Linked DNA regions of Homo sapiens: regions 1 and 3 are each linked to region 2. Evidence: promoter capture Hi-C in 16 types of primary human blood cells and fetal thymus (Javierre and others, 2016). All regions are on one chromosome and are shown on one strand. The core of a region is centred on a gene start or on the middle of the fragment in contact, and the rest is flanking DNA. Distances in the headings are between cores, read along the strand shown.

Region 1 (4,383 bases), core at 1,872-4,371, 1.7 Mb after region 2:
GGCCTCCCAAAGTGCTGGGATTACAGGCGTGAGCCACCCTGACTGGCCGTTCATAAAGTTTTGAGGACATGTAGCATGTTACGTTTCAGAGAATCAAAGGCATCCACCATTTCTTTTTTGATCTCTCAATTTTGTGTTCATTTAGATTTCAGACAGCAATCAAAACATCAAGTACAGGTGAATACAATCCCAGGCCACCTTTTCCTGGGAACCTGGATATTGAGCTCTTACTTTTCTCCATTCTAGGATCTTGTTAAGCAGTGATGCTAACCAGTGAGTAGAACAGTGAGAGGTCCGTGCATATTCTATTTGCTGATCTACCAGCTGTTTTAAGGGACTGGTCAGTGGCAGAATTAACATATTTGCCATACCTACAAAATTCACAAGTACCTAGACTTCATTTTCCATTTTCCTACAAAACTCAAACTCTGTTTTTGTGACCTATTACTCACCGTAATCCTACCCAGCATCTTTCTCATTGGAATCTTGAGTAACATTTACCCAAAGATTACATTAGTTCCATTCTTCTTCCTTTCATTATCAAGTCATTATTAGATGGAGATGATTTGAATAGCCTAGGTGCCTGTTTTTTGTCTTGTAGTCCTTCCTTGGTGTTAACTCTGAAATTAATTTATCTCTTTTTTTATTTTTATTTATTTATTTTTTGAGATGGACTCTCACTCTGTCGCCCAGGCTAGAGTGCAGTGGCACAATCTCGGCTCCCTGCAACCTCCACCTCCCGGGTTCAAGCGATTCTCCTGTCTCAGCCACCCAAGTAGCTGGGACTACAGGTGCCCACCAACACGCCCGGCTAATTTTTGTAGTTTTAGTAGACACAGGGTTTCACCATATTGGCCAGGCTGGTCTCAAACTCCTGACTTCAAATGATCCACCCACCTTGGCCTCCCAAAGTGCTGGGATTATAGGCGTGAGTCACCATGCCCTGCTAAAATTAATTGATTTCTTCCAAGTGTGTGCAGTCATGTTTTACTTCTGTGATCAGACCTATTTAAGAGTTATAAAGATTCCTTCCAATTGTATCTTATGAAAGCCAGTAGGCATTTAATGACCTTCTTTTCTGGAGTCATTGTCTTTATATTTTGTGCCTCATTTTTGGAAAGCCTGTTTTACTTTCCGTGTGTCTTCTTATTTCTAAAGTCTTATTAAACCTACATTATCTAAAATGCCCATTACCTATAAATTTCTCTTCCACTCTGAGATTAAATATCTTTCTCAGTGGTTACCTTTATATTTTTAGAACATTTTATTGTTTAAAAATCACAGTCAAAGCTTCAAAAAACATACACCCCAAAATATCCCAATTTCAGTATCCTACTACCCAGAGGAGAGCACATGGCTGTTCTTCCCCTTCTGGTGCCCACAGCACTAGCGAGGACCCTGCCCTGAAGAGACCACTTGCCCACCCTCCTGCCCACCATATGTTAAGTCACCGTTTCTAATACATTTATTTATTTATTTATTTATTTAGTAAGATGGAGTCTCGCTCTGTTGCCTAGGCTGGAGTACAGTGGTGCAGTCTCGGCGCACCGCAAGCCCTGCCTCCTGGGTTCAAGCAATTCTGTAGCAGCGTCCCGAGGAGCTGGGATTACAGGCACCCACCATCCCATCCAGCTAATTTTTGTATTTTTAATAGAGACGGGGTTTCACCATGTTGGCCAGGCTGGTCTCAAACTCCTGACCTCAGGTGATCCACCCACCTCAGCCTCCAAAAGTGCTGGGATTATAGGTGTGAGCCACTGCTCCCGGGCCCTAATGCTTTTATAATTTAGTTTATATTTGAACTATTTGGAATTTATTTTGTGTCTGTACATAATCTGGAGAGAATTTACTGAATAGCACATGTATCCCCCCAACTGCAATGCCATCCTCGCCATATACCAAATAATCATGTCTATTTTGGTCAATTTCTGAACTGTTTATTCTATTCCTTTATCTAGTTACCTATTTATACACAAATACCAAACTTTTTATTATTATACCCTTAAATAATATTATGAAACTCACTTGGTGAGACCTCCTCTATATTTTCCTACTGTTTCAGAATTTTTCAAGGGTAGTTTCTTTCCTATGCATACTCTAGAATCATATTGTCTATTTCCAAAAAAAAAAAAAAAACAAAAAAACAAAAAACCTGACTGGGCGCAGTGGCTCACAGCTGTAATCCCAGCACTTTGGTGGGCAGAGGCAGGCAGACTATGAGGTCAGGAAATCAAGACCATCCTGACTAACATGGTGAAACCCTGTCTCTACTAAAAATACAAAAAATTAGCTGGATGTGGTGGCACAAGCCTGTAGTCCCAGCTACTAGGGAGGCTGAGGCAGGAGAATCACTTGAACCCAGGAGGCGGAGGTTGCAGTGAGCAGAGATCACGCCACTGCACTCTAGCCTTGTGGCAGTGTGAGACTCTGTTTCAAAAAAAATTAAACAGCAGCAACAACAACAAAAAACCCCTATTATTATTTGATATTTGTATTGAATGAAATATATACATTAACATGCAGGAAATTAGTATCATTATATTGAGCCTTCTAAAGGAGAAAAGAGTCTGTTTTATCTGTTTAGTTTTTTTTTTTTTTTTTTTTGAGATAGCGTTTCACTCTTGTTGCCTAGGCTGGAGCGCAATGGTGTGATCTCAGTTGACCACAACCTCCGCCTCCCGGGTTCAAGCAATTCTCCTGCCTCAGCCTCCTGGGTAGCTGGGATTACAGGCATGCATCACCATGCCCAGCTAATTTTGTATTTTTAGAAGAGATAGGGTTTCTCCATGTTAGTCGGGCTGTTCTCCAACTCCCGACCTCAGGTGATCCGCCTGCCTTGGCCTCCCAAAGTGCGGGGATTACAGGCGTTAGTCACCGCACCTGGCCTAATTTTTATTTTATGTGTTCTTCTCCTCTGTATATCTCTTTGAATTCTATTTTACCTGATAATAATGTTGCTACAGTAATTTTTTTTTTTTGAGACTGAGTCTCACTCTGTTGCCCAGGTTGGAGTGCAGTGGCACTATCTCGGCTCACTGCAACCTCTGCCTCCTGGGTTCAAGCAATTCTCCTGCCTCAGCCTCCCGAATTGCTGGGATTACAGGCACCTGCCACCATGCCCAGCTAATTTTTTGTATTTTTAGTAGAGATGGGGTTTCACCATGTTGGCCAGGCTGGTCTTGAACTCCTGACCTCAGGTGATCCACCCACCTCAGCCTCCCAAAGTGCTGGAATTACAGGCGTGAGCCACCACGCCCGGACAATAAATGTATTTTTAGGAATATTTTTCTTCGTATGTTTCTTTACTTGACTGTCTATTTAGGTATCTAATTTTTCAGGGTTTGTTTAATAAAACTATACTGTCATTGATAATTCATAGCCTAATGAGGAAGGCAACCCAGGACAAAGGGTTCAAAGACACAGGTACATACTAGAGTGTGGGGAGGCATGCAGGCACATCCTAATGCAGGTAATGTTGACTACGTTGTTAAAGGCAAGTAGGAATTAGTCAAGCAAAGAAGAGAGCAAAAGAAACTCCCTGTTGAAGAAGGTCATGGCAAAGCGAGAAGGCATGAGCACTGTGAGTATGATACATAAATCTCTACATCAGAATCTTTTGATCCAGTGTTTAGTTTATGACAAAAGATAAGGCCAGAAACCTATGTACAAACAAGATGATTAAGACCTTTCCTGCCACATCAAGCTGATGGAATTCTACCTCGAAATGTGGAAGGGATACACTAAGAAATATTTAGCTATTAGAACCTGAGGGCCTCTTTGATACCTGTTAAAAGTTGAACAGGTCCCCATTCTTAATAAGGCATCTGGTTCAGTGTAAATTCTTAGAAAATAATTGTCATTTGTGTAAATAATCCAGGAGAAGGCAGAGGTCAGGAAATGTTTTTCTTAGCGGGCCAAATAGTAAATATTTTAGACTTTGCAAGCCAAGAGGTGAAATTGAAAGTATGTAAATACTTGTATAACCATTTAAAATGCAACCATCTAAAAGTATTAAAACATTCATAGATTATAAGCCCTATAAAATTACTAATGGCTAGATTTGACCTGTAGGCTATAGTTTGTGGACTCTTGGCCTAGAGAATGGATATTTAAATTTTTAAGGGAGTATAATGCTTTCATTATGAAAGAAAATGGAAAATAATTCGTTGGCATGTGGAGAAATGAACAATGAGAGAAAATGTTATTTTGGGAAATAAAACCAAGGAGAGAATTGGCATGTTAGTTTGAAATTATTGCTTCTGTAACATGCTAAAAAGCATGACATTTGAGTATAGCACTGAGATGGACAAGGTGCCCTACAAGGCCAAAAATGACTTTTTTGTTTCTGGGAATCAGTAAGGATTTATGAATCTTGAACAAAAA
Region 2 (4,808 bases), core at 1,339-3,838:
CCAAACTCTTGTTTTTCACTCCCCAAGCTGGCTCCACCCTATTTCAGTAAATGGCAATTCCATCCTTCCAAAAACCTTGATTTTGATCTGTCCCTCATGTCTTACATCCAATCTATCAGCAACTGTTACCAGTTTTACCTTCGAAATATATCCAGAATACAACTGCTTCCCATCACCTCTGTAGACCCCACCTTGGCCAAAGCCAACATCATCTTTCACCAGGATTATCACAATAGTGTCTCAACTATTTCCCTGCTTCCACCCTCAGCGCCTACAGTCTACTAAGCTAGCCTTTTGAAAAGGAAAGGCAGATTGTGTTACGTCTCTGCTTAAACCCCTACACTGACTTCTCATCTCATTCTAAATAAAATCCAAAGCTCTTTGCATGGAATTCAAAGCTCAACACAGTTTTGTTCTAGATATCTTTGAATTTGTCTCATAACACACTCTCCTCTCTCATTTATTCAGCTCCAGCCACAGGGGTTCCCTAGAATATGCCAGGCACTTTATCTAATTAGCATTCCATCCCACCACACTCTCTAGTCACCTACTGTGCTTTATTTTTCGAAATAGCACCTATCATTACCTAACATACTTATTTTTTGTCTTATCCCACTAGAATATGTCAGGGGGACAAGAATATCTCATGCTGCCACCCATGAGAATAGGGATGTCATCTGTCTTCTTCACTGTTTTTCCCCAGCACCTAGCACAGAGCTCTTGTATGTAACAATAATTTCTAAGTAGGAAATTCAAAGGATTTTTTCCACTTCATTAAAAACAAACAAACAGATGCAGTGGCTCACACCTGTAATCCTAGCACTTTGGGAGGCCGAGGCGGGCAAATCACTTACTTGAGGTGAGAAGTTCAAGACCAGCCTGGCGAACATGACAAAACCCCATCTCTACCAAAAATACAAAAATTAGCTGGGTGTGGTGGTGTGTCCCTGTAGTCCCAGCTACTCAGGAGGCTGAGGCAGCAGAATCGCTTGAACCCAGGAGGCAGACTGCAGTAAGCCAAGATTGTGCCACTGAACTCCAGCCTGGGTGACAGAGAAAGACCCTGTCTCCAAAAAACAAAAACAAAAACAAAGAAACAAAAAAACCTATTCTAGTTACTCAGACACACAGTCTTAAAATAACAAAAATACTTATAGAATGAAGCTAGATTCCACAGCATCGATCAGGAATTTCCAGTGTAGGAAATGATGAACTACCACATTCAAACATACAGGCTTTACAGGTGCATCAGAATCACAAGCACGTGGCAGGGTTCATGTGCCCAATTAAGTGAATATTCCTGCTACATGTTCAGCAGCTTATAAACAGATGGTGACCCAGACCAGACTGCCTTGATGAGTCTGCTTGGAAAAAAGGCATTACATCACTGATTGGAGAACCTCAAAGCATATGTCCGGGCAGGTGACACACACACAGCTCAGGCTGTGATTGCTAAACCACTCCCACAGCCAAATAAGGAAACCCATCTCATGACCAGCTCTCAGGGGAATTCTCCGAGTCTGACAGTCACCTCTAACTCCTCTGCCAGTTAAAATTAAGGGGTCTGTGATCAGTGATGTTACACTCCTCAAATGTGCATTTTTTTTTGAGGCGGAGTCTTGCTCTGTTGCCCAGGCTGGAGTGCAGTGGTGTGATCTCGGCTCACTGCCACCTCCACCTCCCTGGTTCAAACGATTCTCCTGCCTCAGCCTCCCGAGGAGCTGGGACTACAGGCGCCCACTACCATGCCTGGCTAATTTTTGTATTTTTAGTAGAGACGGGGTTTCACCATGTTGGCCAGGCTGGTCTTCAACTCCTGACCTCAGGTGATCCACCCGCGTCGGCCTCCCAAAGTGTTGGGATTACAGGCGTGAGCCACCGTACCCCGCCTCAAATGTGCATTTGTGATACCTTTTCGTAAATGTTTATTCAAATATTTATTCACGAATAAAGGAAGAAAACGGGATTTGTTTAAATTCAATTTCTAGGTCCAAGACAACCTACTACGGCTGTCCCTAATACGGACCTCCGGGTTGTCCTCAGTGCCGCTTCCAACAGTGTCCTCAAACACCCTCCCCTCCCATAATGAGCCCCCAACCTGTCACCACTCCGAGCAATACTCCCCAAACTGTCAACGCCCTAAACAGCTCCCTTGTTATCGCCAAGCTCTAGAAAGCCCTCCTTATGTCATTCTTACCCCTAAAGACCGTTCTTGTCACCAATTCCCCAGACTTCCCCTATGAACCGCTCTAAGAGCCCTCAGCTATCAGCCACACCCCCAAACAGCCCTCAGTAAGAGCCCTACACTATCAGCCAGACGTTTTCCGCCACCAACGCTCCCGAGACCCCACTCCTGTCACCAGTTCCCCGAACATTCCTGCGAGCAATGTCGCAGATACTGCTCACAGACGTCCCCATAACCAACTTCTTCGCCACCGCAGCCCAGGAGCCCCCAAAGGGGTCCTCCGCGGCCCCGCCCCTTTACGTGCGGCCCCGCCCCTTGGCGTGGCGCCCTGACAAATGGCGCCGGAAGCCCCGCCCCCGGCCGGTTGCTAGGCTCCGACAGCCGGAAGTCCCGCCTGCCGTGTAGTCGCCGCCGTCGCTGCCGCTGCCGCTGCCGCCGTCGTTGTTGTTGTGCTCGGTGCGCTGAGCTCCGCGGCTCCGCGAGCCGGTTCCGTCCCCTTCCCGCCGCCGCCATGAAGTGGATGTTCAAGGAGGACCACTCGCTGGGTAAGCACTTGGTCGTCGGCCCGGCTGCTGGGGGCTGGGGCGGCGGGTGGGCCCCCTCCCCCACTCGGGCGGCCCTGGGCCGAGTGGAGCGGGGCGGATGCCCTGCTGCGGGCTGGAGTCGCCCATGCCCTGGTGCCTCGGGCAGCGGCCCCCTGACCCCATGTCACCCTCCGCGGGCCTTGCTGGGAGCTAGTAGGGGACAGGACCGCGGCCCCGGGGACGCCGGAACCAGGGCCTGGGTTGTACGCAGGGCGCAGGAGGAGGAGGGCCGGGGGCCGGGAACCGACCGGTGGGCAGGCGCGGCCGTCAGCCCCGTTTGTTTCTCCCACAGAACACAGATGCGTGGAGTCCGCGAAGATTCGAGCGAAATATCCCGACAGGGTTCCGGTGAGTGGACTCTCCGCCCCCTCACCTCGCTGTCACCTCTGTCGTCTGGGACCCGTGATAGGCCCCAGGCCATTCAACAGTTGACAAGTTGAGGTTCCAGTCCCAGTTACAGTAGCTGACGGGCCAGACCGGGATGAGGCCGCCCAGGGCCGGGGCGTGAGGGGCTCGGGCTGGTGCTGTTCAGGGTGCCTCAGTGCTGAATCTCCCGATCTAGGCCAGCGAGCCGTCTGCAGCCTCGGGGCTCCCTGGCCAATTATGTAAGGAACGATGTTCTAGGACAGGGCAACAGGTCACTGCCACTTTTGGGAATGGTGGTGGAGGGAGACTGTCATTTTGGTCTTGGAAGTGGTACTTGAGTCTCAGGACGTTCATCTTTTACTTTGTCTCCATCTTTACCTAACTTCTAGCTCCGTTATCTCACCTTGACCCTGTCATCCTTGCCTGACCAAAATAATGTGAAAAGCCGCTGAAAACCCCTTCTGCCATATTTTCTTCTTAGTCAATAATAAATATAATGTTATATTTCTTCCATGGTTGGGGAGATAGTTTTGTAATCGTTATTAATTTTTAATGGACATTAAGGCCTGTTATTGTAGCTCTTTGCTTGTGAATAATTTGTCTGGGGAAAGGAGTAGGAGGGACGGATTTGAAACTTGTTCAGAGAGGAGCAACAGGCCAAATGAAGAACTTGGTTCTTGGCTGGCTAAAATTCCAGGCATTCCAATTAGTCCATCCATTCTTGTCTCCTGTGTTCCTTGGGAACACAGTAGTGTTTCCTGTAGTGTGAAGGTGGATCCATTCTGGGGTCCTGGAGTAACGGGCCATGGATGAAACCCTCCCCAGATATTCTTAGGTCTGCCCAGATAAAATGTGGAAAAGCTTAGTGGTAAGGGCTGCATTTCTCTTACATAATTGACCACAGAAAAGCACTTACTGTTTCCCTGTAACACATTTATATCAATTCTTAACCTCCAGAGCGTGTGGTTTATTAAGCCAAAGACATATTTTCTCCTGCTATGCAGTTCCCCACCCACCTCCTTGCCCACACTCTGTTCATCAGCTCCTCAGCCATGTGAGGCCAGAGCCTCGCTTTAGGAAACACAGTCCTGACCTCTCTTTACTTTCCCAGGTGATTGTGGAAAAGGTCTCAGGCTCTCAGATTGTTGACATTGACAAACGGAAGTACTTGGTTCCATCTGATATCACTGTGGCTCAGTTCATGTGGATCATCAGGAAAAGGATCCAGCTTCCTTCTGAAAAGGCGATCTTCCTGTTTGTGGATAAGACAGTCCCACAGTCCAGGTGAGAGGTGTTTACTAGATGGGCCCTCTGGTATTAGACATCTGGTTGGCTGCTTACGGAACTCCAAAACTTTGGAAGTCTGAAAACTCTTAGGGGTCCTGACTAGAAATCTGGATTTTATGCTCCCTGACATCAGGGGCTCCAGGAAAATAATGGCTGCAATACATAAGAGTGCATTTTGGATTCAGAAAATAGAACAAGGCCTGGACTTTTAAAAAAATGATGAAACTCAGCCTAAGATCTCCAAGAATCTTTTAAAACGGTTGAGAACTTATTTAGTCTTAAGCTATAGGTAGAACTGAGGCCTGAAATGAGGTTTTCTTCCCTGAAGGCAGTCCTGGCATGCTCCTCCACTGGGAGCCTGTGGGCCCTGCTGAGGCTCACTCAGT
Region 3 (4,095 bases), core at 1-2,500, 1.3 Mb before region 2:
GTAAGTATATTTTCAAAAATTAAAAAAGAAAATTATGAAACAGCAGGAGTTTTCATTTTCATTTATTTAAGAGACAGTCTCACTCTCTCCCCCAGGCTGGAGTGCAGTGGCACAATCATAGCTCACTGTAACCTCATACTCCTAGGCTCAAGCAATCCTCTCACCTCAGCCTCCCAAGTAGTAGCTGGGACTATAGGTCTATAGGTGCATGCCACCATGCTTGGCTAATTTTTTTTTTTTTTTTTTTTTTGGAGAGACAAGGTCTTGAAATGTTGCCCAGGCTGGTTTCAAACTCCTGGCCTTAAGCAATCCTCTTACCTTGGCCTTGAGCCATGCCACCCAGCCAGGGAACTTTGAAGTAATTTTTTATTATCCATTCCTTCATCTTTCACAGGCAATCAATCACCATTTTCTGTCCATTTTTCTCTGAAATGCATCTCCCTGTTTCTTTTTCTGTTCCCTCTGCCACCCCAGGTATTTGTCACCTCATACTAAATTATTTAAAATTCCTCCTAACAGAGCTTTCCTGATTCCTTGTTCTCTTAAAAAAAAAAATTATTTCTTTTTTCAGAGACAAGGTCTCACTATGTTGCTCAGGCTGGTCTTGAACTCCACCTCAACCTCCCAAGTAGCTGGGACTACAGGTGCCACCACCACATCCAGCACTAGCTCTCTTTCTGTGAATCTACTTTGCATACTACTACTAGATTAATCTTCTAAAAATGTCACTTCTTTCATATCACTTTCTGACTTACAATAAAAATCCTGTGCCCTTTATAAACTGGTCCTACCCAACCAACATAAACTTCTCACTACTCTCTTAAATATGTCTCTGCTCAGGACAGCCCAGTAGTCTCCCATCCCTGGCTCCCCTCACCCGAGTCAGGCACTATTATTATCCCTCTTTTACATAGAGGAAATTGAGGTGTAGAGAGATTAAGTGACCCATTTAAAATATCCTAGCCAGTGAATAGGAAAAGCAAAATTCAAATCTAGATCTGACTCACAGCCCACGCTCTTTTCTATTACCTTCACAGTCGGAGACGACAGGGAGAAAGATTACAGGGAAGGGTGCCAGAGGCATCAAGAATTTATTCTCTACCATGTTCCAGTTTCTCCACACTCTCAAACTCAGTCCTGCTGGAATGTTTCCAAAATGCTACCTAGCTTGAGGAACCTCTTCAGATTCTGATCATATCACTTGAGCTGAGCGATATTCCATGACAGGCCTAAATAACCCTCAAATGAAAGAGTAAATGCAGCAAATAACAGAGAAAGTAAGTGACGGAGCTCACATTTAGGGAGCAGCTATATAACCAAGCATTGAGTGGCAGATAATGGATTTACCAAGAACCTTAGGTTCACAAAGAATTCACAAATTGCCTAGTGTTTCTGTTATCTGTTGCTGCACAACAAACCACCCAAAACTTAGTGACTTAAAACAGCAACGATGACTTATTATTTCACAGAATTTTATAACCTGGGCTGGGCTCAGCTGGGCAGTTCTTCTGCTCCACATGCTATCTACTAGGGCTGGAATATCCACAGTGGTTTTTTCACTCTCATTTCTTGGGACCCTGCCTGTAATGGCTGGAATAGCTGGGGAATGGCCAAGCATTCCTCTTCTATTCCATATGGTCTCTCCTGCAAAGTAGCCAGATTTTTCTACATGACTCAGGGTTCCAAGAGTGGGCATTCCAAGAGAACAAGCTGCAACATGAGAGTGTTACTCAAGCCTCTGTTTGTATTACACTTGCTAATATCTCATGTGCCAGAGCAAGTCACATGCCCAAGCTCACAGTCAATTTTGGAGGAGATAACCAGGGCATGAAGGCCAGATGCATGATTCATTGGGGCCTGGCACATTTGATCATGGTGAGCATGTCTGACAGACTGAGCACACTTTCTGACACCATATGGGATATTATACAGGATTTACATTTATTATTTGCTTATAGTCTATCTCCTCTAACAAGACTATAAGTTCAAAGAGGGCAAGAGCTTTGTTTTGTTTATTCCTATATAACCAGTATTTAGAAGAGTGGCACAGAGTTAAATTGTTAAGTGAGTATTGAGAAAAACATCAGAGATACTGGTTATAGAAGACTGCCAAAGTTTACAGTGCAAAAGAGTCATTATCTAAGTGGAAAAATTAAAGATTCTAGAAACACCGTTGGCACAGCTTTTGCCCTTTCCAGGCCTACAGAGGCTGATGGAGAATGATGTTGTAGCTGGGCCTCTGAGTAGATGAAGGCATCTATTATGAAGAAATCAAATCCATTCTATGCAGCTATTAATGATGATGTAGACCTAGATTTGCTATAAGGAAGTGTGTTAATGATAAATTATTAACTCAAAAGAGCAAATTTCAGAACTTTATGTAGAGTTAAACTCCATTTGCATTTTTTTTTTTTTTGAGATGAAGTCTCACTCTGTCACCCAGGCTAGAGTGCAGTGGCAGGATCTTAGCTCACTGCAACCTCCGCCTCCCAGGTTCAAGTGATTCTCCTACCTCAGCCTCCCAAGCAGCTGGGATTACAGGCACCGACCATCATGCATGGCTAATTTTTTTTTGTATTTTTAGTAGAGATGGGGTTTCCTCATGTTGGCCAAGCTGGTCTCCAACTCCTGACCTTGTGATCAGCCCGCCTCGGCCTCCCAAAGTGCTGGGATTACAGGCGTGAGCCGCAGCGCCGAGCCCATTTGCATATTTTGAAAGCTATGCATACAGATGCCAAAAGATACATCTTTAAAAAACTTTCCGAAAGATTCGCCAGAAACTAGTAGCCAGTGACTACCTTTAAGGAGAGGAACTAGGGTTCACCTAAGAAAAGTGAGGGAGACTTGAAGCTCAGTAACAGGTTCATGGGCTTTATTATACTATTTTCCCTACTCTTGCACAGGGTAGGGATTTTCCATTAAAAAGGGTGTTTTAAAAATATGTCTGGGGCTGGGCACCATGGCTCACGCCTATAATCCTAACACTGTGGGAGGCCAAAGCAGGAGGATCATTTGAGCCCAGAAGTTCAAGGCTTCAGTGAGCTAATGATTGCACCACTGCACTCCAACCTTGGTGACAGAGTGAGACCCTAACTCTTTTAAAAAAATAACAAATTAAAAATGTTAAAATAAGGCTGGGCACAGTGGCTCATGCCTGTAATCCCAGCACCAGCCTGGCCAACAGGATGAAACCCCGTCTCTACTAAAAATACAAAAATTAGCCAGGCGTGGTGGCGGGCACCTCTAATCCCAGCTACTAGGGAGGCTGAGGTGGGAGAATCGCTTGAACCCAGGAGGTGTTGGTTGCAGCAAGCTGAGATCTGGGCAACAAGAGTGAAACTCAGTCTCAATCAATCAATCAATCAATAAAATAAGTCTGGCTGCAGAGTGGAGGATGGAGATGGGAGAAGGTCAAAACTGGAAGGCAAAAAGAGAAATTAGGAAGCTAATGCTGAAATCCCTTAAGAAATACAGCACTTTAGGCCAGGCGCGGTGGTTCACGCCTATAATCCTAGCACTTTGGGAGGCTGAGGCAGGCAGATCACAAAATCGAGACCATCCTTCCTGGCCAACATGGTGAAACCCTGTCTCTACTAAAAATACAAACAAATTAGCTGGGCATGGTGGCATGCGCCTATAGTCCCAGCTGCTTGGGAGGCTGAGGCAGGAGAATCACTTGAACCTGGGAGACGGAGGTTACAGGGAGCCGAGATTGTGCCACTGCACTCCAGCCCGGTGACAGAGTAGGACTCCGTCTCAAAAAAAAAGCACTTTGGGCCAGGGTTAATCTTAGTTTTCTGTATGTGGTACGATTTCAGGTGATTTTAATTTATTTCAATTAATTAATTATTTGTGACAAGGTCCTACTGTTCGGAAGGGTCATGAACTCCTGGGCTCAAGTGATCCTCCAACCTCAGCCTTCCAAGTATCTGGGATTACAGGCACAGGCCACCATGCCCAGCTCTATATTCATTTTTATTTATCTGAATAGTGTCATTTTTCCACAATGATCATGTGTAACTAGAATAATTTTTTAAGCTCATAGTCAGTTTCACACTGCTTCAGTGAGTCAGGATTGGAGACACCCAATAAGCT

The links. The method cuts DNA at HindIII sites, captures the fragments that hold promoters and counts their contacts. A CHiCAGO score of 5 or more calls a contact.
Region 1: a fragment that was not itself captured here is called in contact with the fragment with the promoter of GABARAPL2 in region 2 in 2 of 17 cell types (M2 macrophages and fetal thymus); the score reaches 8.3 in M2 macrophages.
Region 3: a contact is called between a fragment that was not itself captured here and the fragment with the promoter of GABARAPL2 in region 2, in 2 of 17 cell types (neutrophils and naive CD4 T cells). The highest score is 7.8, in neutrophils.

What each region holds. Positions count from the first base shown.
Region 1 is chr16:77,215,995-77,220,377 of GRCh38, forward strand. No RefSeq gene overlaps it. Among named protein-coding and RNA genes, the nearest start is that of SYCE1L, 19 kb to the left of the region's middle. The HindIII fragment of the contact is 3,666 bases long and covers 1,289-4,383 here.
Region 2 is chr16:75,563,791-75,568,598 of GRCh38, forward strand. GABARAPL2 (GABA type A receptor associated protein like 2) reads left to right here and starts at 2,589. Exons shown (of 4, transcript NM_007285.7): 1 at 2,589-2,730; 2 at 3,062-3,117; 3 at 4,247-4,419. The coding sequence starts at 2,697. RefSeq lists a silencer at 2,652-3,061 and an enhancer at 3,051-3,804. The HindIII fragment of the contact is 5,212 bases long and covers 1-3,994 here.
Region 3 is chr16:74,290,260-74,294,354 of GRCh38, forward strand. No RefSeq gene overlaps it. Among named protein-coding and RNA genes, the nearest start is that of PSMD7, 4.5 kb to the right of the region's middle. The HindIII fragment of the contact is 5,681 bases long and covers 1-4,091 here.